Linked DNA regions of Homo sapiens: region 1 is linked to region 2. The links are contacts of gene promoters, found by promoter capture Hi-C in blood cells and fetal thymus (Javierre and others, 2016). All regions are on one chromosome and are shown on one strand. Each heading gives the region's core, a stretch centred on a gene start or on the middle of the fragment in contact. The rest is flanking DNA. Distances are from core to core; before and after follow the strand shown. Region 1 has its middle 190 kb from the start of MYOF. Region 2 holds the start of CYP26C1 (cytochrome P450 family 26 subfamily C member 1).

Evidence for each region. Contacts are between HindIII fragments. The CHiCAGO score rates a contact against its expected background, and 5 or more counts as called.
Region 1: a fragment that was not itself captured here is called in contact with the fragment with the promoter of CYP26C1 in region 2 in 5 of 17 cell types (M1 macrophages, M0 macrophages, M2 macrophages and 2 more); the score reaches 9.0 in M1 macrophages.

Annotation. Positions count from the first base shown.
Region 1 is chr10:93,291,497-93,297,088 of GRCh38, reverse strand. No RefSeq gene overlaps it. Among named protein-coding and RNA genes, the nearest start is that of MYOF, 190 kb to the left of the region's middle. The HindIII fragment of the contact is 4,082 bases long and covers 1,586-5,592 here.
Region 2 is chr10:93,058,257-93,064,164 of GRCh38, reverse strand. CYP26C1 (cytochrome P450 family 26 subfamily C member 1) reads right to left here and starts at 3,367. Exons shown (of 6, transcript NM_183374.3): 1 at 2,698-3,367; 2 at 1,931-2,155; 3 at 1,170-1,445. The coding sequence starts at 2,901. It overlaps EXOC6 (exocyst complex component 6), which reads right to left. Exons shown (of 22, transcript NM_019053.6): 22 at 4,675-5,908. The coding sequence ends at 5,810. RefSeq lists enhancers at 1,187-1,356, 1,367-1,486, 2,440-3,349. The HindIII fragment of the contact is 6,240 bases long and covers 1-5,908 here.

The DNA of each region.
Region 1 (5,592 bases), core at 2,377-4,876, 230 kb before region 2:
GGCTAGGGGAAGGGGAGGAATGGGGAGTCGGTGTTTAATGAGTACAGAATTTCCATTTTGTAAGATGAAAAGAGTTCTGTGGCGTGCAACAATGTGAATGCAATTATGCCACTGAACTGAACAGCTACAAGTAGTAAATTTTACATCATGCCTGTTTTATCACACACACAAAAGTGCTAAAAGAACGAGTGTCCTCTCAGACGATGCCTCCATGAAGTCAGGGGCCTATTTTTTCTCCTGTTCCCTACACAAAAGTAGGTCCCCAGGCCTCAGGAGACAGGTAATACTTGCTGATTGTCTGAGGAGTGAACCTTGTCTCATAACCAAAGCTCGGGTCACTTTGAGCCTTTTGACAGCTACCTCCAGCACCCACAGACACAGCTGATTTGGCCCAAACCACCTTTATTTAACTAGCTGACGATGTTTAACCATTGGAAAAAGTCACATTAAAGATTATATTTTGAGCTTTTCCCCACACATTGAAAAGTCTGCCAGCATTTCACTGTTCAGAAATTGTCTGGAGTCATGTGCCTGCCAGTCACCCCAAGTCCCCTGCCTTGCTCCATGGACGTTTGCTGCCCAGCTCCTCAGGATGCTGAGGGTGGGACGTGGGTGCATTTTGTTATCAAAGTAACCAGAGTAGGCTCGCCTCTAACCAAGACAGAGAATCAACCAGAAGTTCCCTGCTGGGCAGCACCCTCTACATGTCTCTGCCATTGTGGCCAGGCCCCTGCTCCCCATGGCTCCACGCTGGACTTCAGGGTAGCACCCTGCTCCTTCCTGGGCCCTCCTCACCCTCCCCAGCTGCTCCAAGTCAGCCATGACCCCAAGATTCTAGGGACATACAATCAGCATCTCCTGAACAGCCTCCTCTCAGCAATGAAAATTCACATGGCCAATATGGCAATGCTCAATTTGATTAAAAAGGAAGAAAATATAAATTAAAACCACAATGAACTATCATTTCACATACTCCAAATTGGCAAAAAATTTAAAAGTCTTTGACATCAAGACTCAAGAGGGCTGTGCAACAACATATATTTTTATACATAGCTGGTAGATGTTTAAACAGGTAAAACCACAGTAAAAAACAATTTGTCATTATCTACCAAAGGTATCAGTCCCTGCTCTGTGACCCAGCAACCCTACTCTTAGATTTGTACCCTAAGGAGACATTAACACAGCGCACTTGAAGAAAAATTTTTAAATGTTTGAAATTGCAGAACATTGGAGAAACTCTCATGTTTTCCATTAACAGTAGATTGGATAATAAATTGAGGTATAGTCATTTAATAAAATACTATAAAGTGGTGAATGTGAGTGCACTGTAGCTACACATTACAAATGAATAAATCCGAAACCAGAGGTACGTAATCTTTTGGCTTCCCTGGTCCACACTGGAAGAAGAAGTGGGCCACACATAAAATACATGAACACTAACGATAGCTGATGAGATTTAAAAAAAAAAAATCACCAAAAAAAAAACCTCTCATAACGTTTTAAGAAAGTTTATGAATTTGTATTGCGCTGCTTTCAAAGCCGTCCTGGGCTGCATGTGGCCTCTGGGCCGCAGGCTACACAAGCTTGGCCTAGAAGGAATGTTACAGCTGGGGGAATCTAAGGGATAATTCTTCCCTTATATCCACAGCATAGAAGCCCTGAACATAACTCCTAGAAATATTTTTTCTTTAAAAATTTTAAAATTCATTTATATTCACTGCAGATACTTTATTGGGAAAAAGCATAAAAAAGAACATTAAAAATCCATAATCTATCATGAGATAACTACTGTTAACATTATTTTGTGGTGTTTCCTTCTACTCTTGCCGTTTTTAAAGACATAAAATTGGGATCCCACCTCCAGAACTTCCCTGGCCTTGCCTTCATGATTCTCCAAGGCTTTTGTTTGTTTTTTGTGACAGGAGCTTGCTCTGTTGCCCAGGCTGGAGTACAGTGACACAATCATGGCTCAGTGCAGCTTTGACCTCCCCAGGTTCAGATGATCCTCCCACTTCAGCCCCCCACGTAGCTGGGACTACAAGCACGCACCACCATGTCTGGCTAATTTTTGTTTTTATTTTTGTTTTGGAGAAAAGGAGTTTTGTCTTGTTGCCCAGACTGGTCTCGAACTCCTGGGCTCAAGTGATCCAACCGCCTCAGTCTCCCAAAGTGCTGGGATTACCGGCATGAGCCACCATGCCTAGCCAACTCTCCAGTTTTATATCTTGCTTTTCTTCCCTCTCTTAAAATTGTATTTCATAGGCCGGGCACAGTGGCTGACGCCTGTAATCCCAGCACTTTGGGAGGCCGAGGTGGGCGGATCACGAGGTCAGGAGTTCGAGACCAGCCTGGCCAACATAGTGAAACCCTGTCTCTACTAAAAATACAAAAATCAGCTGGGCATGGTGGCGCGTGCCTGTAATCCCAGCTACTCGGGAGGCTGAGGCAGGAGAATCGCTTGAACCCGGGAGGCAGAGGTTGTGGTGAACCGAGATTGCGCCACTGCACTTCAGCCTGGGCAACAGAGCGAGATTCCATCTTAAAAAAAAAAATTGTATTTCATAAACATTTTCCACAATTTATGAATTTCAAAACCTAATTTATAATGGTCATTTAAAATTCCATCACATGGATCTACTCTAATTTAATCCCCTATCACTGAGGATATATGTAACAATATATATTGTTTCCAATTCTTTGCTATTTACAATGCTGCTTTAAACATCCATGGACAAAGATCTTTGCCTGTATTTTGGGGCCTCTAGATCTATTAAATTGTTAACAGTATAAGGTCAGGGACAATGTTTGTCTTGTTCACCCAACCTTGTGCATGAGATAGAGCAGCATCAATGAATGGGCAAATGAATTTCTTATTCATTCCTGAGTCAAAGGGGAATTCCTGAGTCAGAGGGCACGAGCATATTTAATGCCCTTGAGATACATTGCCAGTTGCTTCCTGAAATGTAGTACCAATTTATACCCCGCCCCAAGTAGAGTCTTGAGAAGGTTCCAGCCAGAATTAATGGCCATTCCTTAGCCACTCTTTCCATCTGCATGGGGTGACTTTCTCCACCTTGATTGCTGGCCCTCAAACGCAATGGGGAAGAAGGGGCCTGCCACAAGTCTGTTTTGAGGACCTCCTGTGGGGACAGTAGTCTCCCCTCTGGGTCGGGAGAAGTAGAGAAGTCCTCCAGTGCCCTTTAGAAAGAGCATGTACTTGGACTCTTTGCTCTTGGAAAATGTGAATTCTACTAAAGAATCCTCAATATGCTTCAAGTACGCTGAGCAAGTCCCCATCCAGGACGCTAAGATCTACAAGTCTGTCTTGAAGCCTCATCAATTTTCAAATTAAACTTCTTCATATTTCTTTTAAAAAGAGGAGAGGGCACTTTGAGTTCACTCACAAAAAAAGACAAAAAGTAGAATCAAGCAGTAAAATAGAATTTCCACAAGATTAAAATAAAGGTATAAGAAGAAAAGCAAATGTTCTAAGAGTCAATGTACTGCTCTGATTTGGGTTTAAAAAGTGACTTGGAACATCCGTGAGGGGAATATTTGTCCTCTGGCTGTTCTTAACTGGTTGGTAATATGAAAGGAAGATAAATCTTGGGACCTCAAAATCATTAAGCCAAAGGGAAAAGTCAAGCTGAGAACTGCTTAGGGCAAACTTGCCACCCATTCTATTCCTAAAAAAGATATTTATTAAAGGCCAGGCGCAGTGGCTCATGCCTGTAATCCCAGCACTTTGGGAGGCCGAGGCGGGTGGATCAGTTAAGGCCAGGAGTTCGAGACCAGCCTGGCCAACATGGTAAAACCCCATCTCTACTAAAAATACAAAAAATTAGCCAAATATGGTGGTGGGCATCTGCTACTCAGGGGGCTGAGGCTGGAGAATCACTTGAACCTGGGAGGTGAAGTTTGCAGTGAGCCAAGATCACGCCACTGCACTCCAGCCTGGGAGACAAAGTGAGACTCCATCCAAAAAAATAAATAAATAAAAGATATCTACTAAGATAAAAAAGCTACATACCTCCGTCACAAGGAAATTTGCTGTGGACAAAGGACAGACAGAACTCAAAGTCATCCCTCTGCTGAGATAAATGCATATCTGGTTGCCTCCTTTGAAAAGTCTCATTAGAAACTCAAAAGAATGCAACCTTTGTCTTGTGAACCCCAAATATCTGAGACAGGTCTCAGTCTATTTAGAAAGTTTATTTTGTGGCCGGGCTCGGTGGCTCACACCCATAATCCCAGCACTTTGGGAGGCTGAGGCGGGCAGATCACAAGGTCAGGAGATCGAGACCATCCTGGCTAACACGGTGAAACCCCATCTCTACTAAAAATACAAAAAAATTAGCCAGGCGTAGTGGCAGACACCTGTAGTCCCAGCTACTCGGGAGGCTGAGGCAGGAGAATGGCGTGAACCCGGGAGGCGGAGCATGCAGTGAGCCAAGATTATGCCACTGCACTCCAGCCTGGGCGACAGAGCAAGACTCCATCTCCAAAAACAACAACAACAACAAAAAAAAAAAAAAAAAAAAAAAAAAAACAAAAAAAAAAAAAACAGAAAGTTTATTTTGCCAATCTCTTAACTACCTATGATCTGGCCCTTCCCACTTTGAGTTGTCCTGCCTTTCTGAATGGAAACATATATTAATTCATGTCTCATGTCTCCTAAAACGGATAAAACCAAGCTGTGCTCTGACCACCCTGGGCACATGTCGTCAGGAACTCCTGAGGCTGTGTATTGGGCACGCATCCTTAACTTTGGCAAAATAAACTTCCTAAATTGACTGAGACCTGTCTCAGATTTTAGGGTTCATTGTAAAAACATACAGGCCTTCAGAAAAAAAGTTATTATACCAAAAGTGACAGAAATGGCTCATCAGGATCTTAGCGCAGGTCCTACATTTGTGAAGCTCCCATTAATATTCACTGTTCTTCTTATTTTTTTTTTTTTTTTGAGACAGAGTCTTACTCTGTCGCTCAGGCTGGAGCGCAATGGTGTGATCTCAGCTCACTGCAACCTCCCCCTCCCAGGCTCAAGCAATTCTCATGCTTCAGCCTCCCAAGTGGCTGGGATTACAGGCACCCGTCACCCTGCCCAGCTAATTTTTGTATTTTAAGTAGAGACGGGGTTTCACCATGTTGACCATGCTGGTCTTGAACTCCTGACCTCAGGTGATCCACCTGCCTTGGCCTCCCAAAGTTCTGGGATTACAGGAGTGAGCCACCGTGCCCACCCTTGTTGTTCTTATTTGTATATTTGTAGAGGGCAGAAATGTTTCCCATAACAGCTTTTAATAAAAGTCAGAGAATACTACAAAAGCAGTCCTTTGAAGAACTATGCTGAGATGGCTGGCATTCATACCTATTTCAAAGAGTACAGCTTTTAAATTCTTTCCCAAATATTTTTCCTTTCCCTGAGACGTTTGATAATGATCCTGATGGTGAAAAGATCAAAGCTCTGCTCTCAGGGAGGACGGGCCTCCAGGCCCTTTGCTGCTGCCGGGGGACATCTCTGTGAGCCCAGCATGCAGGTGGGGGTGGCATCCAGAGGTCACACCTGGGTGGAAGCCACGCCACCTCTGC
Region 2 (5,908 bases), core at 2,118-4,617:
CCCCTCTGAGCCACAGCAGAGTTACTGTCATCCTGAGGAGAGGATGCTGAAGTTCAGAGAGGTCAAGCAATTGCCCAGAGTCACACAGCTGTCCATGTCCATGCCTGGCACAGAGCCCAGTGCGGCTAGGGTCAGCCCATTGCCCTTTCCCTGTACTAGGCTCAGGCTGGGGTACCTTGATGCACCCAGCAAAGCTCTGACTTAGAGGACACTATTGGATTTGTAAGCATTAGCCTCTGTAAGAGCGTGGGCAATAGGGGATGCCTCTCCAGAGTTCAGGGAATAGCCGCAGCAAAAGCATTCCCCCGGGGAAAGCACTGTAATTCAGCACTTGAGTTCCATAGTCGGAGGAGATGAGGTTAAAGTCCTGTTCGTGCCCCTACTAACGGTGTGATCTTGGGTAAGTCAATAAAATAAGTTTGGCCAATAAAATGAGAATCATAACACTTTGCAGGCTGCGAGGATTAGATCAGAAAACGTATCCACGGTGATCAGCCTATAGCATGATCCTTTACACATATTATTTTTATGCAGGTGACTGAAAACCAGGGAATCAAACAGTGGGAAGTCCCAGAATAGGGGGACCAAAAGGCGGGATGGGGCATCCTAGCTGCTCTCCGGGTCCTGCCCATTGTTCTGAAGTCTGGAGAAGCAGCAGTTCTCTGATCCCGAAACCTAGCGGGTCCAGGGCTGGTGGAGCTGACGCCCACACCCCTGGGTCCGGGGCTGGCGCTGGGCTGGACCGGGGCTCATCTGCAGCCCTCACGCTCTCCTCGGTTCCGCAGCCATCTGGGCTTCCGAAGAGGTGATGGAGGCCGGCCCCAGGGGCGCCGCTGTGGGAAGGAGTCCGACCGACTGGCAGGACGCCTGCCACCGAGACCCCAAACTCTGGCGGCCCGCGCTTGCTCAGGCTGGAGCGCGTCGCGGCAGGCGCGTCCCACGGAGGTCGTGTGGCCAGCCCCAGGTCACACCAGCGAACCAGCACAGAGGCCAGGCCCAGAGCCCACCGCCACGCCACCGCCACAACGCCTCCCACCCCCGGGCCCTGCCGCCGTTCCCAGCAGAGGTGACGGACGCGCGGGGTGCGCCGAGGGCGTCCCGTCTGGGTCTGGGAGGCCCGCCCGCGCCGCGGAGCCTCGGAGGAAGGTCTGGAGCCGGGGCGGCCGTACCTTGCGTAGGCCACTGAAGGGAACGTCCAGAGGCAGTGAGAAGAGGTTCTCCACGAGCTGCTCGAAGGTCCGGGCCAGCGTGGCGCACTGCGCCTCGTCCAGCCGCAACCCCAGCAGGATGCGCGCGGCCATGCGGAAGGTGAGCGCTTTGGAGGCGTCGTAGACTGAGACCGGCCCGCCCGCCGCGCACCAGGAGCGCACCTCATGCCGCAGCGCCCCCTGCAGGCGCGGCACGTAGCGCTCCAGCGCGGCGCGGCTGAACACGCGCGCCAGGACCTGTGGGAGCGCGCGTGATCAGCGCTGGCGGCGGTCTGGCCTCATCTGCTTGGCGATTCCGGAGTAGCCAGAAGGCCAGTTCCGGTCCTTTCTCCCTCTTCCAAGCGGCCCAGACCTAAACTTCCTGGCTTTTGCTTTCGCCATTTCCCCCAGTTCTGCTCTGATGCACACAGTCCCTCCCAACCATCCAGGCTCCAGCTGCCATCTCCTCTAAGAAGTCTTCCCTGGCCCCTTTCTAGGTCTGAGTCTCCAGCGCTTCTGCTATCACAGCCACGGAAGATGGGAGATGAAAGAATCTTTTAGCGCAGTCCTAACTTTATAAACCGAAGCTGAAGGTAACGGACCCGCCCAAGGCCACCCGCTAGTTACCAGGGACCTTGGTCGGGTTCACAGTGTATCCAACACCGGGGCCCCGGCCTGGCCCATGGCAGATGCCGGGGACCGCGGATCCGACGTATCTACGGTCCATTCCCGTTTCCACTCACCTTGCGCCGCCGCCGGTGCGGCTCGCCGACCGCACCTAGCAGTGTGTGCGAGCCCAGCAGGATGTGCGCACTCTGCGGCCACTGGCTGCGCACCAGGCGGTGCTCGCCCAGCAGGATGGTGCGCACGTTCTCCGCGCCGCTCACGCGGATCACTGGCCTGCCCAGCAGGTGCGTCTTGAACACTGTCCCATAGCGCTCTCGGCGAGAACTGTGGAAGCGCGAGCCCTGCGGGCGAGGCGGAGGGTGGAGAGCTGGAACTTCTGGGCCTGGGCTGGGATCTGACCCAGACCTTCCAGCTGCCTTTTGATCACAACTTCCTGTCCCTGGCTGGCGCGTTTACAAAACAAGATCCCCAGTGGGCCTGGTATCTACTCTACGGGAATGTACATGCTCCTGTTCCTATTGGTGAGATGAGGAAACAGACTCAGAGTGAAGAAGTGAGGGCCCAAGGGCTCACAGCTGGGCCAAGCTCCAGGCTCCTTTTCTACCCTTGCAGGACGTGCTCCTCAGACCCCTTCCTAAAACCCCTTATGTTTACCCCCTGCGTTGTGTCTGGGAGTTGCTCTGGGGGGAATTCCAGTGACTTGAGGTCCCTTCGAGGGAACGGAGTATCTAGGTAAAGGCGAGAGTTGTGCGCGCTTCCCGGGGTCGTGGGCGATGGGCAGGGACTGGCTACAAATCCCATGGGCATTGAGACTGAGGAGGGTCCAGTGGGAGCCGGGGGAAGAAGGGACCGTATTAGCGCTCGGGGTCGAAGGACTGCTCACCTGAACTAACCAGTGCAGCGTTTCGCCGAAGAAGGGCCACCCCATGGAGCCCTTGGGCAGAGGCAGGGTGGAGGCCCGGTCCCGGCTCAGCATCCAGCGGAGGGTCCAGAGGTGCTGGGCCAGGCTGAGCAGCAGGCCCGCGCACAGGAGAGCAGTGCCCGCCGCCCCCAGCACTGACAGGCAGCTCAGCCCCCAAGGGAACATGATGAGCCCGCGGGGGCCAGGCCGCTCAGAGCGCAGGGAGAGCAGGGGACGCAAGAACCGGGGCGCGAGCAGTGCGCAGTGCTCACCTGTTCCGTCCGCAAAAGGCCTGGGGTTTGGGGGCAAAGCCCGAGATTTATAAGCTCAGGCCAGAACTCTGTTCTAAAAACAGACGGACGGTGAAAGACTGCAGTGACCGTGCGCCCTTAGGGAACGTGCCTTCCTCGAGGCCGGCACGCTCAGGACTTTTTCCTGGCTCCTGGGCCCAAATGCCAGTCCCTCTCGAAGGTGCCTGCTGCCTCGGGAACGCTCACTCCCGGCTCCGCGGGGCACCTCCCACCTCCTCCCGGGCTCAGCACCCTTTGGATAGAAGAAGGGAAGGAGGGCGAAAGAAGAGCAACTCACCAGTGTTGCCAACCTGGTCTGCAGACCCCCGCCCCACCTGTCCCTCCTCCAGTCGTTTAACCCTTCTTGGCCCACGCTGGACACGTTTATATAGATATTGGCTCCCCCCCTACGGACCGATCCCGGTTCACACAACGTGACGTGTCTTTGCATATTTAAAGCGCTCCACGCAGAGTGGTGATTGGAGGCGGTGGGCAGCGGCGCGCTCACGGAGGGGCTCTGAGTAGGGAGTGGCAGGCGCCGGGGCGGCTCGAGCTGGGCTGGGGGCTCGCCCCGCGAGCGTCCTCGGGCGGGGCCTGCGGGTTCGCGCCAGAGCTTCCCCGCTCTTCGCAGGCGCTCAGAAAGTGGGCGAACCCAACGCGCAGAACTGACCCGGGCTTGCGCCCCGCAGTGCTCCTGGCCCACCCCCGGCCGCTGGCTCCCTCTGCCGTCCCCGCCCTCGAGCTTCTAGGTGCCTTTCTCTCGCCACTCCAAGGTGAAAGAACTGGGCTTTTCTCTCCTTTGCTCCGACTATTTCAGGGAAACTGCAGTCGTCGACGCCTGCGTTGGCATCGCAAAAGCCCAGGAGGGATAGCGCAGCCGAGATTCTCCGACAGCTCCCCACCTCTCCCGGCTCTCTGATCTACCACGTCAGGTATCCTTCCAAAGATGGCAGTTCCACTACTGCCCTAGGCTTCATAAAGACGTCCTAAGCCTCCAGAAGCGGATACCCACGAGCACCTTTCCGGTCTCAAGGACCGAATTCATCCTTCCCTGCACATCCTTCCCTCCCTCCCCCGAGTTTGCCCGACGACTCTTGTCAATCTACATTGTTGCGTTTTGGGCTTTGTGCGTCCCATTCAAGGGTTCCAAATGCCTCAGGACTCACTCGTTCTTGTCCCTACAGTGCAACCTGGGGTGTGTGTGGAGGGGTGCAGGGTGTTTATATTATTGGTAAGAGTAAAGAGGTCCCACAGTGGTCTCCTCCAGGCAGTGCAAAGGCAGTATCTCTCTGAATCCCGGGACGTCTCAGCCAAAGCAGGGAAGACACCCCAAGTACGCTGGAAGGCTGGGTAAGGCGCGAAGGGCAGCCCCATTCCAGTCTTCAAAGAGAGCTAGCTGTTCACCGCTCCTCTCCTCCAGATTTCACCGTGCCTGAAGAACTACCATGCTTTTCATGTAATATTTTTAAAAACATTAAATACTTTGGATTAAGAGATGATCGAGAGAACAAGTGCGCATATGTATATATATGTGTGTGTGTGTGTGTGTGTATGTATATATACTGTTTTGGTGCCACTCCCATTCCAGTAACTAGGAAATAATATGCCTTTTCTCCAGGAAGCACTTGTTTTAAATCAGTAAGCTCTGAATAGACAAAATAGTAATGCATTTTCAACAACTTGCTCAATATTTTTAATATTTCATCACAAAATCCAGAGATGTACATATAATTCTTTACACTTATTTTACAGAATCAGGCATAGTTTCTTACAGGCCTAAATCCTGAAAAGGCAAAGGGAAGATTCAGCATAAATACAACAAAGGGAGAATAAAGACTGGATTTATATTGCCATTTGGACCACGGAAACATACACAAAGGAAAATGTACATTTGTTTTAGGTTTTCCAGAGTTCATTTGGTTTGGCTTGTTTCCACAATGAGGATAAAGTACTGAAATCTGCTATTTGAAGAAAGTAACCTGACCCCTGTGGTAACTTCTGTGTGCAGGAACCATCTACCCTCGCACAAGCTGCACCTGAAGTGGTTAGCCCCATTTAGTTCCTGTCCTCTCTTTTAACTGGAACCAAACCAAACCAAACAAATCCAGAATGGGGTCACCTACAAGCAATATAGTTAGAAATATTAACCCTGATGAACAGAAACAACACTGCATCTTTAGAAAATCCAAAACCTTTTGTTCATATTCAGAACGATTAAATTAAACCACCCAAGTAGAACAAATAATTCACATTCTTACTGAGTTAAATCAAGTTTGATTTCAGGCAGCTTTTAAGATTTGTCTATTTCCCCTTCAGAATTAGCAGAATTAGAAATTTTGGTCTGCTTAAATCACATTGAGGTGAAAATAAAAGCTAAAAGTCAGAAAATGGTAGTGAAATACTACCATATCAGACATGATTGAATTCCAAAGCCATATACTGATCAAAAAACAGATTATCATTCAAGTCTAAATAGAAAAAAATACTTATGAGTAGAGGCATATGTTTTTCAAATGTATTTGTAATCAATTTCATGTATAATTTGTGACAATTTATGTATTACACTTTTGCATTTTCCCCTAAAAGTGAAAAAATGGTCATTTTTTTCCATATATAAAATAGTATTCGATTATTTAAAAATCCATACAAATGATATTTATTACTATTTCTTGTTTAAGCCCTCATGTATCTTCTCTATTGTATTTTTGGATTCTGTAAACAAATTACTGTATCATGACCAATACTTGCTCAAGATCAACATTGAATCATGGATTTGGTGTCACTGAGTGCAAGCCATGTGAGGTCTACATGTGCTGGGACATACCATTCACCAAACTTCTCAGCTGTTTCACGACTGTCTCTATCAACTTCTGTTTGTCTCGATCATTCTTCCTGAACTGAGC